2 separate regions of the Homo sapiens genome follow, and region 1 is linked to region 2. The links are contacts of gene promoters, found by promoter capture Hi-C in human tissues and cell types (Jung and others, 2019). All regions are on one chromosome and are shown on one strand. The core of a region is centred on a gene start or on the middle of the fragment in contact, and the rest is flanking DNA. Distances in the headings are between cores, read along the strand shown.

Region 1 (2,700 bases), core at 52-2,551, 480 kb before region 2:
GGAAACTTTCCCTCTCAGGCTATCAGTCAATTCACAATTGTGCTGCAAAGTGCATACTGTCCCCTAAATATGCAGGCAGAATTGCTTCTCTGCCAATTTGGTATCTTTAATCCTCCACAGTAACTTTTAGAGAAGCTAGATCAGAATTCTACAAACTTCACAGGGCAGCAATCAACCATTTTATGTTTTTCAGTGACTCTTGTATCTTCCGAACTGAAACTGATTCACAGACTATGGGGCCCAGAAACCCAATCAGAGTAACATATGTGCATTGAGTAGACATGTACACTTGGGAATCTGTACTTCCTTTTTCTTCATCTTGCTAAAATGCCCACAAATGTGCAGGGAAAACCTGCTGCTATCCCATCCATTCAGAACCTAAAACTGCAACTTCAAATTCTGAATCCAGGTCTTCAGATTTGAGAAAAAAGAAAAACTTTCTTTCTGAGAGATGCAAGTCCTTTTGGTTGTCCAACTTATAGAGACATTAAAATGAGAGCAGAATTATGTTTCTCTTTTTGTTTTTTGAACTATGTATTCATCTTTTGAAGCTGTTTGCTATTGCCACAAGTAGCTATATATTAATAATGCACACTGGACACTATAACTTGTACCGTAAAACTTAATGGTGTATATCCAATCAATAATCAATGTTATTCCTGTAAATAATAAAAATTTCTGACAAACAACTTTGTATCAACCCACTCTCTGTCCATCTTTTTTAGCCTTTACAAATCAACTTGTAATCACACTGCTAATCAAGTGTATGTTGCGGGCAACTTGAATATTTGCTCCCAGGTTACAGTCCTCAAGCTTGGCCCAAATAAACTGTCAACTTAAATCTATATTTTCTCAGCTTTTTCGTTTTAGGTAGACATATTTAGAATGTGCCAGAGTAGTGTCTATGATGAGATCTCTCCTTTGATTGTACTCTGTTTGCTGTAACACCCAAGGAGGCAGAGTCTGGTTGATCCCACCTGGAATCTGCACATAAGATCTGGCCTCTGCCTAAGATTTACAAGACAGGGCCAAACTTTGAATTGAGAGTATGCAGAAAACCAGCAGAAGACATTTTCTGTATTGTGAGATGTCAACGTAGAGATCTTAAATCTTTTCTTTGAGACTGTGGCTCTGTGAGATTTTCAGATCTTTTCCAGTGACCTGTTACAGGTATGTGAGAGACTCCAGGTATAAATAAAATCTGATGACAGAATCTGTAAGTATAAACAGGCATCTTAGGAGTGAGAGATCAAGGCCACAGAGTAACCAGAGCCATGACTACAACTATACCTACCTGTAAAATGTGATACTGGAGTAGAGTATTGTTATTTCTCTTACCCAAGAGCTAGCAAATCAGAAGAGGTGATCTAGATTCTGGAGCTTAACCAGGGCGGTTCCATTTTCTATTTATAACCAGCCTGAGTCTCTTCTGCCTGGCTCATCATTGGGTCATTAGCCCAGAGTCACTGGAAACCCTCTCACAATCACCTAGGCATCTTTGAGACATTTGAGGATGTCCAGAGCAGAACTGTGTCAAGCTGACAAAAGTGGTTAATTCTGCTTCTGTCTCAGTATAAGAGAAATGAGTCATCCTGTGTTTGTTCCTCCCCTCATACAAGAGATACCTTTAGTTGGTACCCAGACAAGAGTTTCTCCAGTTTCTTGGTACTTGGGTGAAAAACAAGAAGGAGGTCCTGAGACTCAAACAGGTAAACTAATAGCTTCCATTTCATGTGGCCATTAAAAAAATAGATGAGGGAGTCATGGTCCCTACCACCCAGGAACTTATAGTCTAGACTAGCAACTGGGTACATGGTTGAATTAAACGTCATCATATCATTGGTACAATAAACAGATGTGTGCAGAAACGCTTGGGCTTTATTTGGACTACTTTATATTCTTCTGACTTCTGATGTCATCACTTGAAGGGATGTTTATGTTTATTTCTATTTATTTTACCTTGGTAGAATACATATGTATATTTTAATAAAATTACCCTAGGAACCATAAAAGACTGGTTTAAATTGCTTATTAGTATATGTCATAAAATTGGGCACTGTCTAAAAAAATATTTAAATTACACAGATTCTGGGATTTAAGTGCATCTTAGGTAAGCTTAGGAAAAACAAAACTGGAAGCACTCCCAGTAGCATAGAGAACAGAATTCTACATAGGGTCCACTCCCTGGCCAAGTTCTGTTTAGATCCACTGTTTTTGGAGGCCTTATTTAGGTCAGGTCCCACCCTGGAGTCTTACCTCACAGAACTGGATAAAAGAGATTAGAGTTTTGGCTGGGGAATCCTGCTTCATTTCTAGAGCGGGAGTGCAGTGGCGCAATCTCAGCTCACTGCAACCTCCACCTCCTGAGTTCAAGTGATTCTCCTGCCTCAGCCTCCAGAATAGCGTGCCACCATGCCTGGCTAATTTTTGTACTATTATTAGAGATGGGGTTTCACCATGTTGGCCAGGCTGGTCTTGAGCTCCTGACCTCAGATGATCCACCCACCTCAGCCTCCCAAAGTGCTGGGATTACAGGAGTGAGCTACTGCGCCTGGCCTTTTAAGTATCTTTATGCAGCTGATGTGCACCAGTGATCACATTTAATCTGGCACCTGCCTTTCTTTCTTAGATTTTCTTTGCATATATCTATCTTTGGAAAATGAAGTCTCTCATCTTTGTTTACAGGCCAGAAAAACTGGG
Region 2 (2,939 bases), core at 33-2,532:
CATGTTAGCCAGGCTGGTCTAGAACTCCTGACTTCGTGATTCACCCGCCTCGGCCTCCCAAAGTGCTGGGATTACAGGTGTAAGCCACCGAGCCAGGCCTGATAATCTACTTTTTAAAAAATCTAATTCGGCCGGACGCGGTGGCTCATGTCTGTGATCCCAGCACTCTGGGAGGCGGAGGAGGGCAGATCACCTGACGTCGGGAGTTCGAGACCAGCCTGACCAAAACGGAGAAACCTCGTCTCTACTAAAAACACAAAAATTAGCCGGGTGTGGTGGCGGATGCCTGTAATCCCAGCTACTCGGGAGGCTGAGGCAGGAGAATCGCTTGAACCTGGGAGGCGGAAGTTGCGTTGAGCCGAGATCGCGCCACTGCACTCCAGCCTGGGCAACAAGAACAAAACTCCGTTTCAAAAAAAGAAAGAAAAAAATATTAATAATTCAAGTGCTTTTTTTTTTGTAAATTACTACATTGGGGGAAACAAAATTCAGGCTTAACCAACTATAAACTACAATTAACCTCTGATTATATAAACGGGAAATTTCCATCTTGATTGTACAAATTAAGAATCTACGTAACTGTACATAACCCATTACTGAATTTGGTTTTCTTCATTATGCACCTTATAAAACTCTTTCCGTCAAATCCCTTCCATAGACCATAAACTACAAACCACAGCTGGGTGCTCTGCCATTTTTGAATCACTCTTTGATTAAATCCTTTATTACTTTAGTGATGACTGCCATCAATTTTTAATAGGAGAAAAGAGGGACTGGAAACCTCACTGGACCAAAGCTCTTCCCATTCATGAACCCGCACCCGGAGTCAGGATTCTCCCCTGACGCCCCTCCCGTGGTCCCTGCACAATCTGTGAGAGAGGAGGCGCTGCGGGTGAAGAGCGGCCCAGAGAGGGCTCCAGGCCAGGGCATAGTCACAGTGCAGGAAGGAGGCAGGTCGCCCGGGGTCCCGCAGTCAGCGCAGCCGCCATCTTATGGCTGAAGGAGACTGAGGCCGAGCTGGGCAAGAGCTCGGGGCGCAGACTGTGGAGCTCACTGAGGGGAGGCCTGAGTCCCGCCACAGCCACTTTCCACCGGTTCCAGTCAGCCCCTTCCCCTTCTCAGGATATCGGACCCGGCACTCTCACCATTTCTAAGCTTCCAGGGGGTCCTGGCGTCCTAGCTGTGGATCTCCAAATACCTACAGGTCACAGGGCCACAGAGGCTAAGGACACAGAGCAGTAAAAACGAGATCCGGAGCTCCAGCTGGAACCAGAAACAACGGCCCCGCCACATCCCACAAGCCGCCCTTTCCGCTCCAGCTGAGTGCCTGATTGGACGGTTCCCAGCCCAGAGTCCCTGATTGGATAATGTTTAAATCCCCGCCTCCTCAGGCCCTGAGTGACAGAAGATGTGATCTGATGCTGAGCTGAATGAAGAGTGACGGGCCGGGCGCGGTGGCTCACGCGTGTAATCCCAGCACTTTGGGTGGCCGAGGCGGGTGAATCACCAGAGGTCAGGAGTTGGAGACCAGCCTGGCCAACATGGCAAAACCCGGTCTCTACTAAAAATAAAAATTAGGCTGGTGTGGTGGCGGGCGCCTGTAATCCCAGCTACTCCGGAGGCTGAGGCACGAGAATTGCTTAAACTCAGGAGGCGGAGGTTGCAGTGAGCCGAGATCGCGCCAGTGCACTCCAGCCTGGATGACAGAGCGAGATTCTGTCACGAAAAAAAGAAAAGAAAAGAAAAAGAAAGGAAAGGATGACAGTCTAGGCTGCAGCCTTTTCAGGCAGGGCTTCCTTCCTGAACTGAGCCAGGCCAACCCCAGAGGGTATTTGCATTTAACCTTTTGTATAAGGTCACATTCTTTTATAAATAATATATTATATGGTTATTCACAAATGAAAAGAATATAACAATTATCTAAAATTTTCAGAGTTTATGACCTTCCTGGCTTCTGGTTTTTTCATCAGATTGCCTGAGGTTTTAAAAAGAAGGCAATCCTCTGAAATAAAATTGTATTTTAAATTTTCTAGTAGCCAAACTTTAAAAATTAAAAAAAAAAAAAACAGGTGGAATTTATTGTAGCAATTTAATTAACCCAATATATCCAAAATATCATCTTAATACGTAAGCAAAATGTAAATTATAAATGAAGTGTAGATATTTTTTGGAACTTCATCTTTGAAACTAACTCTGTATTTTACCTTTCCAGCACATCACAGTTCAGACCAGCCACATTCCAGGCACTCAGTCGCCACACATGGCCAGTAGCTGCCACATTGAAGTGCAGCTCTGACCTTAGGAGAGGGAAGGGCCTGAACAAACCTTTTCTGCCAAAGATGGAAAAAGAGCCTTTCCCTACCAACATCTCTCTTCAGCTCTGAGGGAGGAACAGATAGTAGCCATAAATAAAGCACAGGACAGCAGGAAAAAACAACCACAGGTAGACCACTGCTGGCCACCTGTTGCCTACCTTTATTCCAGAGATCAGAAGGTGAACTAAGGATGGTAAGGCCACAGGAGAAGAAATCTCTGTGTCTTCAAATCTGTGCACAGTCTTGACCTCCAATGTTTAGATATGAAGAAAATAGATTAAAGGAAAACTTACTTTTCTATTTGTCCTTGGCCCTAATGGTCAGGCTGTGGTTATCTGTTTTCTCCTGTGGTATGGGGGACTGTGTGAGTATAGGCACCAATTACATGCATACATGTCCACATATATTTCTGCATTACTCAGCATTCTCTTACGAGGCCTCCAACTTTATATCAGGGGAAAAATCAGTACCTATAGGGTACCCACTGTTAGAAGAGAACTAGTAATCAACTTGTCAATGAATCCTGGCATCCTATCTGCACTGGGTGCATGTATTAATTAGCTATTGCAGCACAACAAATCATTCAAAACTTATTTGCTCATAATTGAGATGGTCAGCTATTTA

The links. The method cuts DNA at HindIII sites, captures the fragments that hold promoters and counts their contacts. A contact is called where the count stands out against the background at its distance.
Region 1: a fragment that was not itself captured here is called in contact with the fragment with the promoter of ZNF99 in region 2 in 2 of the 25 tissues and cell types used here (dorsolateral prefrontal cortex and stomach).

Annotation. Positions count from the first base shown.
Region 1 is chr19:22,300,518-22,303,217 of GRCh38, forward strand. The region is part of intron 1 of ZNF729 (zinc finger protein 729); the gene reads left to right. Among named protein-coding and RNA genes, the nearest start is that of ZNF729, 15 kb to the left of the region's middle. The HindIII fragment of the contact is 4,203 bases long and covers 1-2,700 here.
Region 2 is chr19:22,782,869-22,785,807 of GRCh38, forward strand. It overlaps ZNF99 (zinc finger protein 99), which reads right to left and starts at 1,283. Exons shown (of 4, transcript NM_001080409.3): 1 at 1,146-1,283. The coding sequence starts at 1,148. The HindIII fragment of the contact is 12,356 bases long and covers 1-2,939 here.